Regions from separate parts of the Homo sapiens genome. Here regions 1, 2, 3, 5, 6 and 7 are each linked to region 4. Evidence: promoter capture Hi-C in 16 types of primary human blood cells and fetal thymus (Javierre and others, 2016). All regions are on one chromosome and are shown on one strand. The core of a region is centred on a gene start or on the middle of the fragment in contact, and the rest is flanking DNA. Distances in the headings are between cores, read along the strand shown.

What was found. The method cuts DNA at HindIII sites, captures the fragments that hold promoters and counts their contacts. A CHiCAGO score of 5 or more calls a contact.
Region 1: a contact is called between a fragment that was not itself captured here and the fragment with the promoter of ETS2 in region 4, in 4 of 17 cell types (naive CD8 T cells, total CD8 T cells, activated CD4 T cells and 1 more). The highest score is 6.8, in naive CD8 T cells.
Region 2: a contact is called between a fragment that was not itself captured here and the fragment with the promoter of ETS2 in region 4, in 16 of 17 cell types (M1 macrophages, M2 macrophages, megakaryocytes and 13 more). The highest score is 13.0, in M1 macrophages.
Region 3: a contact is called between a fragment that was not itself captured here and the fragment with the promoter of ETS2 in region 4, in 1 of 17 cell types (megakaryocytes). The highest score is 6.4, in megakaryocytes.
Region 5: a fragment that was not itself captured here is called in contact with the fragment with the promoter of ETS2 in region 4 in 5 of 17 cell types (activated CD4 T cells, non-activated CD4 T cells, naive CD4 T cells and 2 more); the score reaches 7.9 in activated CD4 T cells.
Region 6: a contact is called between a fragment that was not itself captured here and the fragment with the promoter of ETS2 in region 4, in 1 of 17 cell types (naive CD4 T cells). The highest score is 5.0, in naive CD4 T cells.
Region 7: a contact is called between a fragment that was not itself captured here and the fragment with the promoter of ETS2 in region 4, in 1 of 17 cell types (megakaryocytes). The highest score is 9.5, in megakaryocytes.

What each region holds. Positions count from the first base shown.
Region 1 is chr21:39,205,669-39,208,759 of GRCh38, forward strand. BRWD1 (bromodomain and WD repeat domain containing 1) reads right to left here. Exons shown (of 41, transcript NM_033656.4): 37 at 440-606. Among named protein-coding and RNA genes, the nearest start is that of PSMG1, 24 kb to the left of the region's middle. The HindIII fragment of the contact is 2,102 bases long and covers 419-2,520 here.
Region 2 is chr21:39,167,623-39,170,783 of GRCh38, forward strand. It overlaps the pseudogene PCBP2P1. Among named protein-coding and RNA genes, the nearest start is that of PSMG1, 14 kb to the right of the region's middle. The HindIII fragment of the contact is 7,118 bases long and covers 1-3,161 here.
Region 3 is chr21:38,394,810-38,398,147 of GRCh38, forward strand. The region is part of intron 6 of ERG (ETS transcription factor ERG); the gene reads right to left. Among named protein-coding and RNA genes, the nearest start is that of LINC01423, 50 kb to the left of the region's middle. The HindIII fragment of the contact is 5,452 bases long and covers 1-3,338 here.
Region 4 is chr21:38,804,210-38,807,772 of GRCh38, forward strand. It overlaps ETS2 (ETS proto-oncogene 2, transcription factor), which reads left to right and starts at 1,720. Exons shown (of 10, transcript NM_005239.6): 1 at 1,720-1,911. RefSeq lists enhancers at 519-1,019, 553-692, 873-932, 943-1,102 and silencers at 1,213-1,542, 1,563-1,632, 1,823-2,112, 2,223-2,322, 2,343-2,442. The HindIII fragment of the contact is 4,522 bases long and covers 1-2,891 here.
Region 5 is chr21:39,187,308-39,190,666 of GRCh38, forward strand. It overlaps BRWD1 (bromodomain and WD repeat domain containing 1), which reads right to left. Exons shown (of 41, transcript NM_033656.4): 41 at 1-3,359. Among named protein-coding and RNA genes, the nearest start is that of PSMG1, 5.5 kb to the left of the region's middle. RefSeq lists an enhancer at 1,548-1,597. The HindIII fragment of the contact is 1,914 bases long and covers 611-2,524 here.
Region 6 is chr21:39,230,032-39,233,226 of GRCh38, forward strand. BRWD1 (bromodomain and WD repeat domain containing 1) reads right to left here. Exons shown (of 41, transcript NM_033656.4): 24 at 2,342-2,467; 25 at 2,146-2,253. Among named protein-coding and RNA genes, the nearest start is that of PSMG1, 48 kb to the left of the region's middle. The HindIII fragment of the contact is 1,637 bases long and covers 587-2,223 here.
Region 7 is chr21:38,375,547-38,378,816 of GRCh38, forward strand. It overlaps a transcript of ERG not described here. Among named protein-coding and RNA genes, the nearest start is that of LINC01423, 31 kb to the left of the region's middle. The HindIII fragment of the contact is 185 bases long and covers 1,575-1,759 here.

The DNA.
Region 1 (3,091 bases), core at 220-2,719, 400 kb after region 4:
GGCTGAGGCAGGAGAACTGCTTGACCCGGGAGGCAGAGGTTGCAGTCAGCCAAGATCATGCCACTGCACTCCAACCTAGGTAACAGAGAGAGACTCCGTCTCCAAAAATAAATAAAAAATAAATAAATAGGCTGGGCGTGGTGGCTCACACCTGTAATCCCAACATTGTGGGAGGCCAAGGTGGGTGGATCACCTGCGGTCAGGAGTTCGAGACCAGCGTGGCCAACATGGTGAAACCCTGTCTCTTCTAAACATACAAAAATTAGCCAGATGTGATGGTGTGCGCCTGTAGTCCCAGCTACTTGGGAGGCTGAGGCAGGAAAATCACTTGAACCCGGGAGGCAGAGATCATGCCACTGCACTCCAGCCTGGGTGACACAGTGAGACTCTCTCCAAAATTAAATAAATAAATAAAGCAAGCTTGCCATAACCAGTTTACCTGATACTTTTGTTAGGCTGACTGTCACCTTTACAATTTTGCCGTTGCTTGAACCTCTGGCTTCTTCGAAGTTTTTCATTGAATTTTTGACCAATTTTAAAATCAGAAGAGATTTTCTTCATTTTTTCTTCAAATAAGGCAGATAATCTCAAGGTCATACTATAAATCTGCAAGGATATAAAAACAAAGTAGAATTACAAAATAGCCTTAAAAGTACTTAAGAAATAATTGTAATCATTGAGATCCCTTGCAATGTATTATATCACTGCTTATAGGTAATGGCTGTCACCCACTTCTTCTGTTTCCAACCCCCTTCCCTTAATGACATCTGGAAGTAAGAAGTATCAAATACATACCTCTCAGATGATAAGAAAGTAGTTTGAAGTCAAGCATCTATATTCAGGACTTGTGTCTATATGTCAGTGAATCTCAACTGTTTTTGCCTATTCTAACATCTGTATGTACAAACCCCAAAATATACCCTTCTCCCAAAGTTAGATGGGAAGTTGAATGGTTTTAAGGCTGCTATTTAGGCTACAAAAGCGCTGTCTTTCTTTGGGGCAAGGGAACAAAAGCACTTTTATATACCCATCTCTGTCTGCAATCTGTTTTCAATGCCACCTAATTCTAAAAATGAAACAAAAATACCTTGCATCCAGTAGCAGAAAGTATAACCTAGAACGTTAATGCATATGAAAGATTTGTTTTAACAATGTTTACAATTAAATAACATCAAATCTTAAATACTTTTGGATACAGCTATGTATGTACAGAACTACTCTATCCTCCTCCACGACTTTTCCTGAAAATAAGTGCAAAAGTCTAATGCTCAAAACTTAAATATAATTCTTGTGCATGGCAGTGGATGGCGAAGACACTCCAATACCAGAAAACTTTTTTAAAAAGTATGTGAGATATACGAATTTCTTACATGCTTCTCATATACATATATATATGCTCACAAATGAATGTGAAATTTGTTATACTTAATCTGAAATGATCTTTGACAGTTATTTTCAGTATTTCATATATATAAATTTTATTCTGCCAGGCACAGTGGCTCATGCCTATAATCCCAGTACTTTGGGAGGCCGAGGCAGGCAGATCACTTGAGGTCAAGGGTTCAAGACTAGCTTGGCCAATATGGTGAAACCCCATCTCTACTAAAAATACAATAATTAGCCGGGCATGGTGGCGCAAGCCTGTAGTCCCAGCTACCCGGGAGGCTGAAGCAGGCAAATTGCTCAGGAGTTGGAGGTTGCAGTGAGCCAAGATCTCACCACTGCTCTCCAGCCTGGGCAACAGAGTGAGACAGGCTCAAAAAAAAAAAAGAAAAAAAAGAAAACACACACACACACACACACACACACACACACAAACAAAACTCCAAAAACAACAAGTGTTGGCAAGGATGTGAACAAACTGTGGCTTTTATACACTGCCAGCGGGAATGTAAAAAGGTGCAGCCAATATGGAAAACAGTGTAGTGGTTCCTGGAAAAGGTAAACATGAATTATCCCATGACCCAGCAATTCTACTCTTAGGTCTATACCCAAGGGAATTGAGCAGGGTTTCTGAGAGATACGTGTATTCCAAAATTTGCTGCAGCATTACTCGTAATGGTCAAGAAATAGAAACAGCCGAGCTGGCCATCGATAGATGAATGAATAAGATATGGTATAACCACACACTTTAATATTATTCAGCCATAAAATGGAATAAAGTTCTGATACATGCTACAACATGCATAAGCCTTTAAGGCATTACACTAAGTGAAATAAATAAGCTGGACACAAAGGACAAATATGGTAAGATCTCAATTTTTATATGAAATTATCTAGGACAGGCAAATTCAGACACCGAAAGTTAGAGGTTTCCAAGGACTGGGGGTGAGGGGAAATTACTGCTTGATGGTTACAGAGCTTCTGTGTGGAATGATGAAAAGGTTTTAGAAAGATTATAAACGATGCCACTGAATTGTACTCATAAAAATGGCTAAAATGGCAAATGTTATGTTATATATAGTTAACCATAGTTTTGAACAACTGACAATGTACTATACCAAAAACCACTGAACTATAAGCTTTCAATGGTGAACTGTATGGTATGTGTCCTCAAACATGTATTTGAGGGGCGCAGGGAAGACTTGAATGAAATTTATTTTGTCGCTGAAAAAAAACAGTCTTACAAATGGTGACTTTGACAAAAATCCAAGCTTGGAAACGTTAGCCTTGAACGTTAAACTGATCCAGCAAGCAGTGTGGATCCTGAATCCAAGAAAGAGTTCTCAAATTGAGACCAGAGGCAGTAATGCAGGAGGAGTCTAATATTAAGTAATGACAGGGAAATGCAGTTAAAGCAAAACAGTTAAATGTCACTGATTGTAGACACCAAAAAATGTTGTAAGATCAAACAAGTATTTTACTTTAAATATGACTTTTTACAATTATTCAACACATGAGCTACCTGGAGTCTTGCTCTGTTGCCCAGGCTAGAGTGCAGTGGCATGATCTCAGCTCACTGCAACCTCTGCCTCCCAGGTTCAAGTGGCTCTCATGCCTCATTTCAAGCGGTTCTCATGCCTCGTGCCTATAGGTGGGATTACAGGCAAGCGCCAACACGGGCTAATTTTTTTATCTCTAGTAGAGAAGG
Region 2 (3,161 bases), core at 82-2,581, 360 kb after region 4:
CTGAATAAAAGTGGTAAAAGTGAGCATCCTTCCTTGTCTTGCTCTAGTTCTTAGAGGAAATACTTTCAGTTTTTCCCCACTCAGTATGATGTTAGCTGTGGGTCATATATAGCCTTTATTATGTTAAGATATGTTTCTTCTGTACCTGGTTTGTTGACAGCTTTTTATCATAAAAGGATGTAGAATTTTATCAAATGTTTTTTCTGCATCTGTTGAGATAATCATATGGTTTTTGTCATTCCTTCTACTGTTGTGATGTATCATGTTTATTGATTTGTGTATGTTAAACCATCCTTGTGTCCTTGGTATAAATTATACTTGGTCATGGTGTATTATCTTTTTGGCATCCTGTCGAATTGTTTGCTAGCTTTTTGTTTTGTTCTTTTTGAGAATTTTTATGTCTAGGTTCCTTAGAAACACTGGCCTGTAGTTCTCTTTTTGTGTGTGTGTCCTTGTCTAGTTTGGTGTCAGGGAAATGGTGGTCTTGTAGAATGAGTTGTTTTTTCTTTGATTTTTTTGCAAGAGTTTGAGGAGAATGGGTATTAGTTCTTCTTTATGTGGTTGGTCAAATTGGCAGTGAATTCATTCAGTCATGAGCTTTTCTTTTTTTGGGAGGGTTCTCATTACTGAGTTAATCACACTGCTCATTACTGATCTGTTCAGATTTTCTATTTCTTCTGGAATCTCAGTAGTTGTATGTTTCCAGCAATTTATCCATTTCCTCTAGGTTTTCTAGTTTGGTAGTATATAGCTATTCATAATAGTCTCTGATGATCTTTTGTATTTCTGTGATATCAGTTGTAATGTCTTTTTCATTTCCTATTTTATTTGGGTCTTTTCTTGTTTAGTCTAGCAAGGGGTTTATCTATTTTATCTTTTTGAAGAACCAACTTTTTGTTTCATTGACCCTTTCTACGTCTTTAGTCTTTATTTCATTTAGATTTGCTCTGAACTTTACTATGTCTTTCCTTCTAATTTTGGGTTTGGTTTGTTCTTTTCTAGTTCCTTGAGGTGCATCATTGAATTGTTTCTTTGATATCTATCTACTCATTTGATGTAGGTGTTTATTGCTATACACTCTCCCCTCCTAGAGCTCCTTTTGTTGTGTCCCATAGGTCTTGGTATGTTGTTTCTATTTTCATTTGTTTCAAACATTTTATTTCCATATTAATTTTTATCATTCAGGAGGAGCATATTATTTAATTCCCATGTATTTGTATAGTTTCCAAAGTTCCTCTTATTTCTATTTTTACTCCATTGTGGTCTGAGAAGATACTTCATATGATTTCAATTTTTAAAAATTTGTCAAGACTTGTTTTTTGTCCTAACATATGGTCTATCCTGGAGAATGTTCCATGTGCTGATGAGAAAAATGTGTACTCAGCAGTTGTTGAGTAACATGTTCTACAAATATCTGTTAGATCCATTTGGTCTAAAGTCTAGTTTAAATCCAATGAGTTTTTGTTAATTTTGTCTAGATGATCATGATCTGAGACTGAGGTGAAGTCCCCAACAATTATCGTGTTGGAGTCTACCTCTCTTTTTAAATCTAGAAATATTTGCTTTATAAATCCGGGTGGTCTAGTGTTGGGTGCATATATTTAGTTGTTATTTCCTCATTAGATTGATCTCTTTACTATTATATAATAACTGTTTACTGCTTCTGGCATAAAGTCTGTTTTATGTAAGTACAGCCATTCCTGCTTGAGTTTAGTACCATGTTGACAAAGGGATGCATAGAGAGTTGGTAAAGCATGATTTCTGGGTGTCTGTGTGAAGGTGTTTTGAGAAGAGTTTAGCATGAGTCTGTGGAGTGAGTGGGAAGATTCTCCCTCAATGTCAGCAGGAACCATCCATCCACTGGGGGCCCAGGTAGAAAAAGATGAAGAAATGGTGAATTCTCTCTCTCTCCTGGAGCTGGGTCACCCTTCTTCTGCCCTTGAACAGGACATCACAACTCCAGGCTCTCCAGCCTTTGGACTCCAAGACTGACACCAGTGCCCCTCCCCAATTACCCCAGGCCCTCAGGCCTTTGGCCTAGGATTGAGACTTACACCATCAGCTTCCCTGGTTCTGAGGCTTCTGGACTTGCACTGGGCCATACTACCAGCATCCCAGGGTCTCCAGCTTGCAGAGAGCCTGTTGTGGGACTTTTCAGCCTCCATAATCAAGTAAGCCAATTTCCCTGGTATCTATATAGATATACAATCATGTTTTGCTTACCAGCCTGAAAAATGTATCGCTAGATGAGTCTGTCATTGCATAAACATCATAGTGTACTTACACAAACCTAGATTCTATAGCCTACTACACACCTAGTCTATAAACATGTACAGCATGTTACTGTACTGAATATTGTAGGCAACTGTAACACAATGGTGAATATTTGCATATTTAAACATATCTTATCATTAAAAAGATACAGTAAACATAAGGTATAAAAGACAAAAACCGGCACACCTATATAGGGCACTTACCATAAATGCAGCTTGCAGGACTAGAAGTCACTCAGGGTGAGTCAGTGAGCGAACGTGAAGGCCTAGGTTATTACTGTCCACTACGGTAGACTTTATCAACACTGTACACAGGCTACACTAAATTTATTTTTTAAAAATTTGCTCTCCAATAATAAATTAATCTTCGCATCCTTTTTTTGTTGTTCACTGTGGCATCCAGTTTCTACCCACAAAGAAAAAGCTCCAATGCACCTTTTAATTTTTTGAAAAATTCCTGATATTACAGAACTAAATTGAAATGTATTAACATCTCACTCTTACATTTTCATAATAAACAGAAAAATTCATAAGCCAAAAAACAAAAACAGGGAGTGCTGGTCACAGTGGTTCATGCCTGTAATACCGGCACTTCGAAAGGCTGAGGTAGGTGGATCGCTTCAGCTCAGGAGTTTAAGACCAGCCTGGACAACATAATGAAATCCTGTCTCTCTGAAAAATACAAAAATTAGCCGGGTGTGGTGGCATGCACCTGTGGTCCCAGCTACTTGGGGGTCTGAGGTGAGAGGACTGCTTGAGCCTGAGCGGTCAAGGCTGCAGTGAGCCATGTTTGCCCCACTGTACTCCAGCCTGGGCGACAGAGCAAGACCCTTTCTCAAAAAACAAACAACTACAAAAACAGGGGGAAACTTATATTGCTAAATACAA
Region 3 (3,338 bases), core at 248-2,747, 410 kb before region 4:
AAAGAGTTCTAGATGGATTGCTTTTACCCATGGCATAAGTATGCTAATGGAATGAATAGACAGCATCAGTAGGTTAGTCAGATACTACCTTAAACATAAAATTGTTGCTCATGAAATGTGACTGGGAAAAAAAATAAATGCCGAACTACTATTCCCAAAATATTTTGAAACTCTTTATTCACAAAATCCTTCATATGGTGTATAACCATATCCCATCCTCCCTCGAAAATAAGTCGAAACTTAACACCAAACAGTCTACTTTTCAGCCAAGTATTTGAGACAGTTATATGAACAATGATTCACATGTTCATAAACATATTGCCGCGGAAGATAAGTGGGCTTTTGTTTTCTTCCATGACATTCTGGTCCAATGCTTCCTTATCGGCTACCGATCACATGCTGTGGGCACTAAGTATCCCCCTGTGGGATATGACATTGGGAAACATTCAACTCAGGCTCACTGAGATGGGGGACAGCCAGGGGTGACTTCTTTGGCAGCTACACCATCTCAAAACCTTCGTAGTTCTGCTCTTGACTGCTTGAAAAATCACTCCTCTATGTATCTTTGCTATGTGTCCTTTATTGATAATAGAGCATCAGACTTCCAATAAGAATATATTTTACATTTAATTTTCGCTGATCATTTCAACACCCTCTCCATTTCTCTTTGACTTTGATCTTCAAGGCAATGAACTCATATGCTTGGCAGAAGTGCCCATGTAAGGGAAGGCTGCTTTCTGGCACTGGTTCTGTTGTTTTATCTGTAAGAGACTGTGTTTAAAAACTGAGCTTTATAGAAGTCATTGCATAGGCAGCTTGGGTGAACACAGATGTACATTACATCACAACAGTATAAAAAACAGCATGAAGCTACAAATAGGGACTCGGCTAGTGCTGACCACTACACACCAGCAACTGTGTCGATTTCCTGGGAGCTGGGATCAGCTTCTCATTCTGAATGAGACTCCTCCTCCACCACACCCTTTTGAAGACATCACTAAATTAATACAACATTCTGGCTACCCTTTCCTGGAGGGCTAAGTTCAGCCAAGTTTTACATTCTCCCTTCATCAAACTCACTGAGGAGGAACGCTCTAGCTCTTGCCCCACACACCCCACACCGCCACCCCGCTGCCTACCCGCTTTATTTTTTAAAGGGCAAGAATGTGGATCGTGGAAGAGCTCATCCTCATTCTGCAGGATCCACACCATATCTGCAAAGCAACTCTGGAGGTTCCCTGGCTGGGCTGGATGGGAACAGATGAGATTTGCCTGCTCTTGAAATTAGATGCTAATGGGGAACACAAATTAGGAAGAGCAAGAGCTGCTGCTAAGAACCAATCTAGAAGTGTCTGTGAAATGAAAAAAAAAGTTTGAGTCAACCTTAACATAATTAAGTTGCTCTCTATTTTCCTCCAGATCTTCTTAAAATTCTACATCAAAGTTTGAGCATGGAGTTTTGGAAACATTTTGCATTCCCTTCTTGCCTAGGTTTGCATATCCCTGTGGTTATATAAGAACTAAGCGGAAGCAAAGAATGCAATTTTAGCCATTTGCTAAGATACAGGCTTTACATAACACCTAACTGAGAGATGCTATGCAGTAGTTGTATTGTCTCACTATGCCTAGCTGTGCTGAAAAGCACTAGGCTGTGAGCTCCAATGGAGGAATAATTTAAGATTCCAAGAAACCCCTGAAGAGCAGCAGCTTCAAAGTAGAAGCAAAGGCTGCATTTGCAGGCTTAACTCTCTAATCTCTTTTGATAACACCCCAGAGGCATATCATAATATATGGGTTGTCATGGGGATGGAAGAGGAAAGGATGGGGTTGCAGAACATCATCCTTGGGATAGAACTGAGCTTTTGCATGACCTGCTCCTAAGAGGACAGGCAGGGTGGTGCACTGTGTAGTTAATAGGGGCTTGCAAGATTCTGTGGATCTGTTTTTGCCACTTTTTCCCCTGAGACCTCAAAGGGCTATGGCTCCAAAAGAAGTGGATTCAGCAAAAAAGAAGGGTGTTTGTAGAGGAGGTACAGAAAGGGATTCTGGTCGTAGTAACTGCAACAACGTGAGAAACACGTGAAACATCATAAAATAAAGTATAATAAAATATATATATATTTAAAAAATCATAAAACCACAGAATGTAAAATGATATGCCTATGGGTTGATACTTTATGAGAGTAGAGAAGACTGTCTCAATGCTAATTCAACAAAGGGGTTGTGAAAGAAGGTAAATCTTGAATCAGGAAAACGTGGGAAAATACTAGGTACGGGCATGCAAGGAAAAGGGATGAGGTTTGGACAAATGGCAGGTAGTGGTGGTGGCAGGGCATGTTCACATGTGGTCCCCTGTGAGGTCAGTGAACGGCCTCGGCCAATTGTGCAGGGAGACTGAACTGACACAGCAGCAGCGAGACTGACCTGACAGGGAAGCAGTCAGGGGGCTCTGGAATAAATGATCCACTTGGGAAGGTGGGCCATGAACAGAAGAAAAGGTAGATTGGGGGCTGGGCATGGTGGTTCACGCCTGTAATCCCAGCACTTTGGGAGGCAGAGGTGGGCGGATCACGAGGTCAAGAGATCAAGACCATCCTGACCAATATGGTGAAACCCTATCTCTACTAAAAATACAAAAATTAGCTGGGCATGATGGCATGCGCCTGTAGCCCCAGCTACTCGGGAGGCTGAGGCAGAAGAATCACTTGAACTCGGGAGGCAGAGGTTGTGGTGAGCCGAGATTGCACCACTGCACTTCAGCCTGGCAACAGAGTGAGACTCCATCTCAAAAAAAAAAAAAAAAAAAAAAGAAGAGAAAAGAAGATAAAAGAAAAGAAAAGGTAGGTTGGGGCAGTAACCCAGGGATGGGTGACTCACAGTGGGAAGGGAAGGAGGGAAGGGTGGTGAGGAAGTGCTGGGAAGGTGGATGCAGCAGGACAACACACATGTGTAGGAGTCTCTGCAGAAAGGGTGCGGAATGCTGTCTAATTTAACCAGTAAACCCTGAACACCACTGTCTCCTCTATCAGGGACTCTATAATGAAACGGCCACCATGCAGAGAAGAGACAGATTCTGGTCTAAGTAGAGTTGTTACCTAGGAGCCTGGCTTGCTTCATGGTCAGCACAATAACGCTGACCAGAGTTCGGTTCCCTCGGATGTGGGATTAGACAAAGGGTATGGAAATGAAGATCATGGCACAGCAAACCAAGAGTGGAGGAGACAGGGATTTGGGTCTGTATCCCCAAGGACCTTCAAAGAAACAGTCAACAATCACCTTTCTGAAAGTAGTCAGGTACCCACTGACCACAGGGATATCGTCAGATTCCCAGTGACCTC
Region 4 (3,563 bases), core at 470-2,969:
ACTCAGCACCCATGAACACGAGGGCAGGCATGGTGGGACAAGGCAGTCTGCTTGGGGCAAGTGAGCTTCGGGAAGTAGCTGAGCTTTGGGGAGCAGCTGTCTATACCCAGCTTCTCAGGGCTGTGCAAGTAGCCTGAGGGAGAAAGACCCTATATTAGCTGAAACTGCAGCCCAGATGAGTCAGTATTTTCTGCTACGGTTTTTTAAAAAAATAGTAACATACTCATGTCTCCATGGTAACTTACTATGGATCTGTATTCCATTTATGGAACTCTTTCTTGACCTATCTGTGTTCTCTAATCTGGGCCTGAATATACACTGAGAAGCCATCAGAATCAATTCAGTCTCCAAGAAATAATCACTTCCCCTATACGTGATTGTTTCAGCCGTATAGATTCTGACTGTGACTCATGCCACGGTGATACCCGGAGACCTTCGGGGACCCAGAAACATTAAGGTGCACCGATATCTCAATTATCCGGATAACTCTAGACCTAGAGTCACCATGGAAACCTAGAACCCTGAGTCACAGAGAAGCTGGGCCATTCCTCTCCCTTCCCGGTGGTGCCGCAGTTCTTGAGATGTGAGCAGCTTTCAGCCCCGTGGCCTCGCCTAAGCTGGGGTTTCCTATTTCATCCACAACTTCAGGAATCTAAACTTTCCTGCAAAATATTGAGCATGTGACCTGAGTCCAAACAGCCATGGACTCAAGCACCTTCTGATAAAAACGGAAACCACAGTGTAGGGGGTGGTTTTGACCAGGGTTTCGGAGTCAGATAAACTCAGGTTTCCACCTTGAATTTCTCATCAATCTGACGTGGCAGGTTATTCATCCTAAGGTTCAGTTCCCACCTGTGTAAAGTGGGAGCCGCAAGTCCTCCGAGAGTGACGATGATGTGCGTGGAGTGCCCAGCCCAGATTGAAGCGCGGCCAAGGCGGGTCGCTATCTGGGCACCGCTCAGCTCCAGAGGGCGCCACTCCCGCGGAGCCTGCGGGATCGGGGCTTCCCGGGAGCAGCGCGATCAGCACCACGACTCGGGGACACAGCCAGGGCCCGGTTTCTACAGGAAGCGCCTCATTTGGAGCCTTTTTGTGATAGAATGATCATTAGTCCTAAGCCCATTCAGAGGTTCAAGAATGGGGTCGGCTCAATTTCAGGGCCTTATTACCCAAGCCCGGCTGCCCTTCGGTGCCACCAGCACCACTGCTCCGTCGCTGCGGAATTCCAAAGGCAGGTTTGGCGTTAGGGCCTTGGCCCCAGAGAGGACGCCGAGCGCTCCACGGAAAGTCTCCGCCCGGCTCCCAGGGCGCACACTCGCGCGCACGTGGGGCCGAGGCCCTGCTCCCGGGGCCTCAGGGCCAGCCGGCGAGGGACCCAGCCGAGTGACAGCAGGAGGCGGAGGGAAGGTTGGGCCGGAAGGTGTCAGCCCCGCCCCGCGCTCCCTCGCCGCCTCCGCCCTCCTCTTCTCTCCCCTCGTGCGTTCCCTCTCCTCTCCCTCCGCTCCCCCAACCCTCCTGCTGCCCCCTTCCCTCTCCTCCCGCTTCTCCCCATCCTGCCTACCTCCCTTCCCCTCCTCTTCTCTCTCCTCCCCTTCCCTCCCCTCTCTCTTCTCTCCTCCCTCGTTTCCTCCCCTCCCCTCCACTCGGCCGTCCCTCCTTCCTCCTCCCTCCTCCCTCCTCCTCCCGCTCCTGAAGAGCGCGCCGCGTGGGGGACGGCCCGGTTACTTCCTCCAGAGACTGACGAGTGCGGTGTCGCTCCAGCTCAGAGCTCCCGGAGCCGCCCGGCCAGCGTCCGGCCTCCCTGATCGTCTCTGGCCGGCGCCCTCGCCCTCGCCCGGCGCGCACCGAGCAGCCGCGGGCGCCGAGCAGCCACCGTCCCGACCAAGCGCCGGCCCTGCCCGCAGCGGCAGGGTAAGAGCTGGGCCCGCAGAGAGCGCCCGGCGCGCGGCTCCAGTCCCATGGAGGGTCACCCGGGGCCTGGGCGGGGGTCGCGGGGGGCACTGACACGCAGATCTCGGGGCGCTGCCGGGGGTGCAGGTGGGGGTGGCGGCTGCTGCGAGGACTCTAGGGGCGCGCGTCTGAGTTCCGCGCCGGCTCGTTTTCCGGTTATGGAGTGGCCTCCGGGGCTGGCGGGGTCGGCCGGGGGGTTCCTGCGTGCTAGGGCCGCTGTCTTCGGGGTCGCCTAGCGGCGGGCGCGGCCAGGGCGCGCTGGCTTGTTTCGCTCGCTTTTGTTTTTAAAAGGAAACGCAGGCCTGGTAGGGGGTCCTGCCCAGTGGATGTCCCGGCGAACATGATTTCGCGAACGGGAGTGGGGGCACAGGAGAGCGTGTCCGAGGTGGCCTGGCGCCCCGGCTTTGAGGGTGACTTCCTGGAGCGGCGCCGGGCCCGGAGGATCTGGGGCGCCCAAGACACCTGAAGGCTGCGGCACCGCGGGAACCTGCGGGGCGCGGGGTGCCATGGTCACCTGCTCGCCGCGTCCAGGGCCCGGGCTGGGGACCCCTCGGTCGTGCGAGGAGAGCGTGGGGAACCTGTCGGAAATGAGATCTGGTTGCGCTGGGCTGCCTTTATTTTCTCGTTCCTACAGCATTTGAATGAAGAGGTAACTGAGTGTTTGCTTGTGTGTGTTTGGGTTGCGTGTGTGTTATCCTATTTTATTTTTTACGGCAGGAGACCTTTTATGTTAGCCTGTACACAATTTCAGGGTAGCCTAAAACAGTAGTTGACGCGCTAGTTATTTAGAAAGTAAAGAAATGAGCAGTCCCCTTTGGAGACAGGAGTAATTTATTTTAATTCGCCAGTAAGAGATTATATTTGTTCCATACAATGGAAGCGCCTGTGCGTTATCTGCCTGCCCACACCACCACCAATCAGAGAGATAAATCTCCACGTTAAGCTTTATTAAAATTCTGAGTAGTAGCGCAGCACAGTAAATGTTAGCACCGACCATCCGCAGGGAAATGCTCAGATACTCATTTCTGGGATTAGTCATTCATCTCTCTAAACTGATCGCTTTCAAAGCGAAAAAAGCAAACTACCTTCAAATGTGTGTTACAAGGTTGTGTTGTTTCTTTTTTTTGTTTGTTTTCAAATTTATCTAAATAATCTTACATAAGTGATTACTTGTTCCAATAAGGGTACTGTTGTCAGGCAAATTCTCCTTGTTTTTAAATGTAACCATTCTCAGCTGTTACATTTCTGCTCTTTATCCTTTTTTTTTTTTTTTTTTGGTTTAAAAGCAGCGATCCATCAGCAACACCAAACTTGAAATTGATTTATGTGGAAAAACTTGGCTTGTCTGCCATCTAACAAGCCCTGTTGAGTAAAATAAGCAAGCTTAAATTTGATTAGTTGTGTGTCTGCCTGAAACCATTTAGTAGAGCACTTTAATTCTGCATGGTTTTTACAAAACTCATTAAAAGCTGGACAACAAAAGAATTCTATTCTGTAGCTAGTAATTACAGCTCTTTATGTGGGAGTGGTAGGCTGCCTTTTCTCCTGGTATTTGTACACAAAAGCTGGGGAGAGCTTTTCCACTGCCTTCCACATTCATTCTCTGTCCATCT
Region 5 (3,359 bases), core at 318-2,817, 380 kb after region 4:
AGGTACCATTTTTGCTTTCAGAGTTTCACTAGGCATCTGCACTGCATCCTTCTGATTATGCATACATGTTCTCACTTTTGTATTGGGTTCTCTGTCTCTAGGAACAAATTCTGAAAAATGAGTGAAAGTTCATGTAAATGCAAAAATCTTGTAACACAAGATTTTACTACTGCTAACATTCCTCAACAACACTCATTCGGAAACAATAAATTTAAAAGTCATATTGCTAAATGATAAATTTTAAAATGTGATACTAAGGGCTTCTTCACATTGATATAACCTTACATTTGCTTATCTACAACTATAAGGATGTCACTTAAAACAGTAGCAGACTTGTAAGAATGGGGTGAAAAGTTCCTTCAGCATCGGCATCATAAAGCTGCTAATCTAAAAACATATATATGAGCATTTTACATAATTTGAATTACTAAATCTTAACTTCATTGTTCCAGTATTTTCTGACCTAGGTATGTGACACACGAGATTCAGATTAAAATTCTAAAAAATAACACAGAGTTGCTTTAAGGAACCAAAAAGTGCAGAGTGCTATGAGAACACAGACTGGAAACCTAACCTAGCCTAAGGGATCAAGGAAGGCTTCCTTTAAGGAAGCTTTTAGACGAGAGGTGAAAATTGTGAAGGGATTTGCCAGACAAAAAGCACTTTGGAGAGTTAACTACTTCATGCAGACTAAGGCAGTTTTTAGAGGGGGCTTGAAATCACACTGGAGCTCTACACAGCCACATGATGCCAGAGCTACTACTCCGTGCTGACCAAACTTAGGAGGGCTCAGATATGTTTGTTACCAGTGTCTCAAAGCCAAATTTTCAAATTTCACAAACAAGTCTAATTAGTACTCTTCTAGAACAGAAGTGATATTCCTTTTACGTATCTGAAGTTCACGGGCCCTTGAATTTTAGGTCTTTCTTGCAGCCATGAACAGTCAAACTATCTAAAACTGCCTTCATGGTACACACCAATCTTGATGGCAGTTTGTTTTGTAGGACCCTGCCTGAAGTTTCCAGACATTTAGCATTCAAAAGGTAAGGCTGTAGATCACTGAAATAACCAGTTGATATCCTCCACCCACACTAGACATCTGGAGGACTCCACCACATTCTTTTTACTACTAAGTACTAGAAAATGAGAGCTCTTTTAGTCAGATACTATCAAGTAACACTATTATTCTGTAGCAATGAAACCACCAATGCCAACCTTCTGAACTTTTTCTTCTGTGAAGATGTTTGCCCTTCTGTCACAAAGCTGACTGAAGGGCAGATGAGTACAGGTAAAAACTGCTTCTGTGGACTGACATGTTCATACAGCTAGACTAATGAGGCAGGCCTCTGCCCTCACAGTGCAAGCACTTCAGATTTTTCCCTAAGTCTATGAAACTGATTTCACACTTCTCTAAGATCAGTTGAGCGTTCTCCCCAGAATAGGTTAGGAAATACTTTATTCAAAGCAACCCCACCACATACACATCAGTTCCTTTTGCCAACTAACTTATGTGATTCACATGTTTTTCCAGTGAAATTCTAAGGGCACTATGTTTTGTTCAGTGTTCAGTCTCCAGGCATTGTAAATGGCATTTTACCAGAGTAAGACACTCATCACGGCATTACTCTCATGCAGCATGCCCTTACCTCCTTCAGCTGGACTCTGTGGGAAGAGAAGTGGCTTAAAGTGCACTGTGTTTACCACTTCAAAGACACTTCTCTTGGGAATTTTAAAATTATGAACTAGTATCTCCAACAAGTCAACCCTATATCCAAAATGAATCTTTAACACATTAAATCAATGTTAGCAAATGCTAAAATGTAAATATGCTACAAAGGGTAAACAAAAATTTTAAAATATGCAAAATTAAGGTGAAATTTGCACTTTATAGTAGGATGAGAATATACTATTATCAACTAGCTGCACCATTTGCATTTGGAAGAAAAGAACAGATAACTGGTTCATTCCCAACAACCTATTCATCCAGACAAATAGATAAAATTCTATTTCAACTACAATTTGTAACAAAATGCTTTAAGTTGCAGAAATTCCATTTTGATGTGTGATCAAAGTACCTATACTGACAATTTAGGAACCTAGTAAATACTAATTCTAACACATTTTAATAAATGTTTATTTGTCATCCAGAATAATGGAAAAGTTAAGATTCTGCAGGAAAAAAAAAACTAAAATCAGGTTTTTAAAAAATACTTAAGGAAATTTGAACTTCAGTAACTATGCCCAAGGGAGGGAGAATTTGAATTACACTGTACTCTAACTTGATAAAGCTGAATCTCTTAAGTCTTAGACAATAAAACAGGAATTTCAGAGAATAAGGATAAAAACAATCTGAGGAAGACAAAACTGTGGAGAATTTTTTTAAATACATTCAAGTCAGTGTTAATTTTATTACTGAAAACTGAGTAAATTATAAAGTGCTTTTTCTCAAGAAAACTACAAACAGTTTTAGAAATATATATAGGATATTTCAGGGTTAGAAGTCAAATTTGTGTGTTAGGGTACAAGCTTAAGAACTCTGGATGTTGCTGCTCTAACAATGCATTTGTGATGGTGCCATGTGATACTAAGAAGTCAGTAGAATCCCACCAGTCCTACTGCCTCAGATGAGTCTTGTTTCAGTCATGGGTTTACAAAGTCATTGAGTGCTTGAGGACTTGTTTTCCTGGAAGTGATTCCCTACTTGGGTATGGCAAGAACACATCAGTAGTGTAAAACTGTACATCTGTAGTAGCACTCCATGATCATTTCCCTGGATGACCACTTTAAATTATAACTCACAGATATGTGTGTATTCTAAGATGGTATATGTGGTGAATAGAAACCTGGATACAAACATAACAGTTCTGACTCAACACAATCTCTAGTTTCTACATTTCAAGGATTAATCATATTCTAATTAGACTTTTTTTTAATTTTTAAGCTACCTTATTTACAGATTCTGCACAATATTTCATCATACAAAACTGTTTTCCTAAATTCAAAGTAAACTGCATATGGTTACTACAGAAGCATTATAAAATTTTCATTGGCATTTTTAAAATTGGAGCATTTAAAACAGATTTGAGAATGAGAAAAGAATGTCTGACTCAAAATGAAAACATACTAGCCTCTTTCATAAACTCCTAGAATCTTGACATTATTGGTTGCTGTGGTTGGTGGATAAATCAAATCCACAAAGTGGGTAAACCCTCTAGGTGCAAGTTATAAGCTCCCTCAAGCAAGCCTTTTATCAGAAAAGACTTGAGATATTCTCTCCTCTGTCTGCCCTTCATTGATAAGCAATGAAATGACCCCAAAACTCAGAAAGCAAATAACATTTATCAATGATCTTCATCCCT
Region 6 (3,195 bases), core at 155-2,654, 430 kb after region 4:
CCCAGTCAATGCACATTTTTATTTATATAGCTTTATATTATACAGTGAAAATGTGTAAGCATTCTACTTATTCATAAGTGTTCTTCAAAATCTTGATATTAAGTTTCTGCCTAATACATTCAGTAAGTAATATTTGTTGAGAATCTACCATATGCTATGACCTCTTCTAGGCAGTAGGGACAGGACGGTAAACAAGTGAAAGTCCCTACCTGGATGGAGTATCCATCAAATGGATTTGCCATAGTCAACCTTCCCCCCAGTGTCTGCTTCTCTGATACTAGGAATACAACAGATCATTCATCCACTTATTCACTGAACAAATGTTATTATTATAATGTACCAAACAAAGTGCTAAGCATAGTTTTCATTATTCACAGCAGTTATGTTCTATAGTCACCTAGAACACTGAAATAAAATACTAAATCAGTGCTATAGAGAATATATAGGGATAGGTTCCTGCAAAATTCTGGTCACAACACTGTAGTAAACCAGTGCATACGTAACTTGGTTTTATGCGTGTTTCCGTTTAAAGGTACCTTATTTAATATGTTGTTGATTTGCAAACATTTAACTGATACCTGAATGAAGCTTATCTAACATACCTTCTCCATAAGGCACATCTCAGCCTTCTAGCACTTAAGAACACTAGAGAGCATGTCAGCACTACGCTTAGGGGCCATTTTAAACAGCAAAGTCACCAGAAAAAGCACAAAAATGGAAAACATGTGGCACTGAATAGACCATGAAAAGGACACTTGTTTGCAGTGCGAGAGCTTAAAAAAAAAAAAAGGCAGAGCAACACCTTGTTCAACCTCAACTAGAAACATGCTCGTCAGGCAAGTCAAATTTTTCACCACCCTGAGCATGTCCAGAAATGACCAAAAGGCTCTGAGAGTACTGTTTGGGGGATTACAAATAAAGCAAGTACGCAGTTCACAAATACAGAATCCAAGAATAATGAGGATGGACTGTACTTAGGTACACAGTCCTAAGTTAAACAGACATAAATAAAACCGCCAATGTATATAAAGCCTAACTTATACAAGCAGAGCCATTAAGTTGAATATAAGTGTTAAAAACAGCTATATTTGTTAAAATAACTAGCATTTTCTTCATTTTCTAAGTTTTTAAAAGTATCAAAATCTGTAGAATAAAAATATAAAAAATAAAAAAACACGTGTACTACTACCCCACAGATCATCACCATTGACATTTTGATGTTGTTCTTTTGATTGGCTGCAAATGTTTTCAAAATTTTGCTACCATAACCAGAAATACCACTTCACACCCCATTTTTCCTATTAGTAATACACTGTGAAAATGTATCCATCATTCATTCAACAAATATTTTTCAACCTTCAAGTACAAGATGGGCTGTACATAGTAAGTGACTGTGTGAATGCACCATGATTTGGTTCATTCACTATTGTGGAATATCTGAATTTTTTTTTTCCAGCTTTGTTTCTGTCAACAGTGAGTGAACTACAATACTCATATATTTACAAGCATTTCTGCTTGTTTTCCAAATTACCAGAAGAGTAAAATCACAGAATTAAAAGTTCCAAATATTTTTCAGTTTCAACTACTATTAACAAAATATCCCCTAGAAAGCCTGGACCACTTCACACACCCCACCAGCAATCTGAATAACTGTTAACAAACCAACATCTTTGCCACTTGCTAAAATGTGGAATTCTTTCTTGAGCTAAAAACAAACGAAATCACAAAATTGGCTAAGTATTGAAAAGGAAAAATTATTATTTCCTTATTTTATTATCCATGAGGTTAAACCCTTCTTCCAGTTTTTATTTCTTCTTTTGAAAACTTGCATTTCTTCCTCTGAAAATCTGTCTTGGATACATAAACATTTTTAAGAGTGATAATATATATATTGCCAAGCTGCCTTTCTGAAACTCTAGGTTGTTGCATTTAACATTTTACACACCAATCAGCAACATACAAATTTTGCCCACTGACAAACAAGCCATTCCCACAGGATCTTAAGGTTTGGTTACAGCAGAAATGTTATCAAGTAGGAAAGAAAGTAATAAAATATGTTTCCAACAGGTTTTTAAATAGATTTGTAAGTAATTTAACTATGTATGTGCTAAAATGTTTAATGATTTAATAATGCCATCATCCTACCCTAAGATCCATTTTTCTCCATGGCTCCTTATTAGGGTTCAGTTCATAAATATTATTTCTTCTTACAGCCTCAATATAAGCTTCATGACCCTGTCGAAAATATATTACCTACAAAAGGGAAATATGCATTTAAAAATTAAGAGCAATATAAACTTTATGTTCCATATTCGTGTTTTTAAATTTGTATTACTCTCACCTCATCACCCATTTGAGGAACAAAAGGAGATTTTCTAAGTGTGGTGTCAGTAATCCAAACTGGAGGGTGAAATTCATATAAATGCTCCATATTTGCAAGCTCTGCTGGAGTCATCCTCCGCAAATTCTACCAAGGGGAAGAGAACAAAGTTTCTTAGATTAGAAAGGGGCAGCATGCACTGTCTGAATGAAAAATAAAAGAAACTTTCACCATTCAGAATGACTATTTTTGCCATGTCCATCTAATGATTAGTTTTCACACAGCATATATATTTAGTTCCTTTACACAGGAATATATCACTTAAAAAAGCATTGTAAATCTACCTAACATTTTCCTAGCATCATCTCCTAAATTTCTGATAGATTCTTCATGCTATTTTACATCCCATTTTAGGGGGCTAATACCCAGCCTAAATCCTCTTTTACCCATAGCCTGTTCTGCCAAGACTCCACTCTGAGTTTGGCCACAGGCTAATCATCACAAGGAGTCTCCTCTTGATTTTAGGTTGTAAGACCGGTGATTTCAAAATATGCCTACAAATTCCCCAATAGTTCTCTCCTTTTCAAGAAGTGGAAGTCTCCTCCTCTTAAGTGTGGACTACACTTAATGACTCACTTCTACCAAATATAATAAAGCCGATGAGACTATGTGCAACTTCTAAGACTAGGTCATAAATGGGGGCTTATCCCTGGCTACTGTTAAATCATTCACTCTGAGGAAAATCATAACTCAAGCAGCCAGCTTGAGTTGAAAATCAACACTCAAGCAGCCAGCTAAGGAGAGACCTGTGTGGCAAGGAACTGAGGCCAAAAGCCATATGAATAAGCTCGGAAAGAATATCATCCAACCCTCAT
Region 7 (3,270 bases), core at 417-2,916, 430 kb before region 4:
GTAACCTTATTTCCAAAAACCATTCCCACAGAGCCCGACACACCGTGGAACAAAAACTGAGAATTGGATTGAAGAACTGGATTGAGAAAAGGAAACACTTTGGTGAAATCACAACCTGTAAACAGACCTCAAAACATAGTGTTCACTCAACTGAAGCTGAACGTTCTATAGCCTGGGTTCATTTGGCTTGATTGCGCATCACTTGTTTACTTGGTGTGTATAACACTCCACAGGAGTCACAGGGTCCTTTTATAGGCATCTCTGGTCTGTTGTGGGCCCCGGGTAGTCATAGTCCCACTGTCTTGCTCATTATCCTCCTGCACCCCCAACACAACTGGACATCACACACTAACTTAACAATTCAGCCTCCTTCCAACTGTCTTACCCCTTCTATCTAGTTTCTTCCTGCCTTAATTAACTTCCTAGCATCATATGAATAATCATTTGTTTGTTTGCTCATCCTATTGTGGTTGCCCATCCTATGATCTTAACAAGTACTCAGCCTTCCTTGAATGAAAGCTATAGACCCTCTGTTAGTATTTTCTTTTTAATTGGGGTAGGGTGGCTTAGTGAACATGGACCTGACAGTGTTGGTTTAAAATCCAGTGACCATTGCATAGTTCCACTTTAAAATGCCCTATGTCACATTAGTGTGAATGCACAGAGGCACAGACAGGCCCAGGGTCTCAGGTTAGAAAATATGATGAGGGGAGGGGTTTCTTCTAAAGAGAACTGTGGAATTGTCGGATGTGAATCTGGGCCTGTTGTTCGTTTCTCGCTATGCATGTTTCCATGGGACGGACACTCAGTTGTTACTCTCGCTCTCTCCCACCACTTCCGCTCTCTTTCACAGGAAGAGGCGGGTCCTACCCTGATGGAAACCGGTTCTGGTCTCTGTCCAATGGGAGTCGCTTCCTGTCCTGCACCTTCCCAACCACATCAGTGAAAGGGTGGAAGTGCTGGTCTGCCCACTGCAGGCTTAACCCATGTTCTTCCTACTAGGAAAGGGACGTTTCCATTTTCATCCACCTGACTCCCGAGTTGGTTGCAAAGATGGAAGAAAGGAACAGCCATTTATTCTCCTGGAGGCAGGCCCTGCCGGACTTGAGAGGGCCTTTCCTCTGACCCTAAGCATCAGAGCGGATGGAGACAGAAAATCCTGAGGCCGCTGTATGGTGGGTCTCTTCACAGCCATGGGGCCCAGCCCCACTCGCCTCCACCAGGTTATGGCCCAGCAGCTGGGACTCCGTCCAGAAGAGCACCTGCAGCACGTATCCTGTGTTCTCCATCAAAGCGGCCTGGAGTCCGCCTGCGTCCCCAGCAAGCAGCACTCCCGCCCTAAAACCAAAGGGCGCAGCAAGGAAATGGGAGGGCTGCGCTTTGCTTCCTGTCTGATAACTACCAACAACCGGGCTTCTGCCCAGCATAGCTAGATAAGGGGAGGGCACTCCATTTGACATGCCCTGAAGACTGTCCAAGCGATGGCTTAGGAAGGCCATTCCAATTTCAAGTCCTGAAAGCTGTAAGATTTTTCTGTGACTTAGAGTGATTTATAACATAGTTTAACCTCTCAAAGCTTCACATCTGTAAAATATGGATAAAACTATCTCAAAGCGGTATTGTGCAAGTTAAATGAAAAAGATAGTGTATGCACATTGTTTGGCACTAAGCTATTATTATTATCAAAAGTAGTAGCAATTAGTATTATTGTTTAAAGGAGAAAATGATATCCATTGGGAGGCTCCTCTTTGGACCTGAAAGCTTAATATCTGGAATTACTTAGAACTGGAATGCCAGCCTCCGCCTCCTGCCAGCAGCCTGCTGCCAATTCTGATGAGACAGCTTAGAAACCATTGCCCTGATGCCATAGAAAAGAAGAGGACAGCTAGCCTTTTCCTTTCTCTTCACCCTTAATTTAAAAAGGTTGGGCAAGTTACACATCCACCCACCTCCAAACCTTTCAAACAAGTTTCAGTTATATTCTTGCCGAGTAGAAAAACCAAAAATTAATAAGAGAACTTACTTAAAATAAAAAGTTGTTAACATCTTGATACATCCTGGCTTTCCAGTTAAGAGACTTTACAGAATGGTTCGTGACTTCTACACCAAATTCTTTCTTGTATATTTTGTCTACACCCCACCCCTTCCTTAGCCTCAACCTCATGAGTGCAAATGGAGATCAGCCCTGGCTCCTGGCATCCCACGACGACTTGGAGGTGGAAATTGTTAGTCTGGAGTGGGATTGAGGGCCCCTGAGGCAGACTGACACTCTTTCAGCTGATGCATGTCTAATGCTGAGCAGGCTGTGACCAACCACCCTCAGGACATGTTTTTATGCAAGTGTGCTGTAGGGGGTGGTCTTCCTCATAAGTGAGAAAACATGAAAGCAAAGTTCATTTATCCCATCAGTTGGCTGCTTCTCACCATTCACCTGGGCCCTGCAGTGCTGAGAAAATAGGATGTATTTTAATCTCCAAGCAGACTGGACTCCAATCAATTTAGAGACACAGAGCCACAACATAATTCAATTTGGGGTGATTCCACTGTCTCTGTAATGTCTAAAGCCCTAATGTACTGCTGACTCTTAGGACAAACTGGCACTGATCAAGAGTGAGGCCACTAAGCCATCACTGATTTCAGACTCTCACCCCTGACTTTCTATGTATGGACAACACTTAATATTTCACAGAACCCAAGTTGCACTGGACCGAAGAAGACCTAAATAGCCATGTAGTCCATGTGCTGCCAAACACCTGGCAAATAGTTGCATGGTTGTTAAATAAGCACACCTCATATCCAGGAACTCCTGGACAAAGGCTGACCATTCCATCTGGACCTCCTCCAACTTCTAAAAAGCTTTCTCTTGAATTTGGCCAATGGGCATCCCTGCTGAGCCCACCTTTAGTCCAGATGTTACCTTTCTGGATGTTCATTCATGCATATAGCTGCAAACGTTTTCCAACAGCTTGATATTGCTAGGCACTGTGCTGGGTCCTGAATCAATGGGTGATAAGGGTAATCCCACTTTCAGCAGAGACACTGACAGCCCCTACTTGACATGGTCCTGGGTTCTCTCATTCCCCTTGTCTCTCCCCACTGAACCTGCACTAACTGTCCTATGTCCCTCTTTAAGTGTAGGCCCAGAATTGATGTTGCAGTCTAATGTATAACAAATAAGTCCTCGTTTGTGACCTGTTTCAGAAAATGCAACCTAAGATTGGGCAGTCATGTCACCTTCCCGTTTAATTTTCTGTCCATATGAGGCAAAAT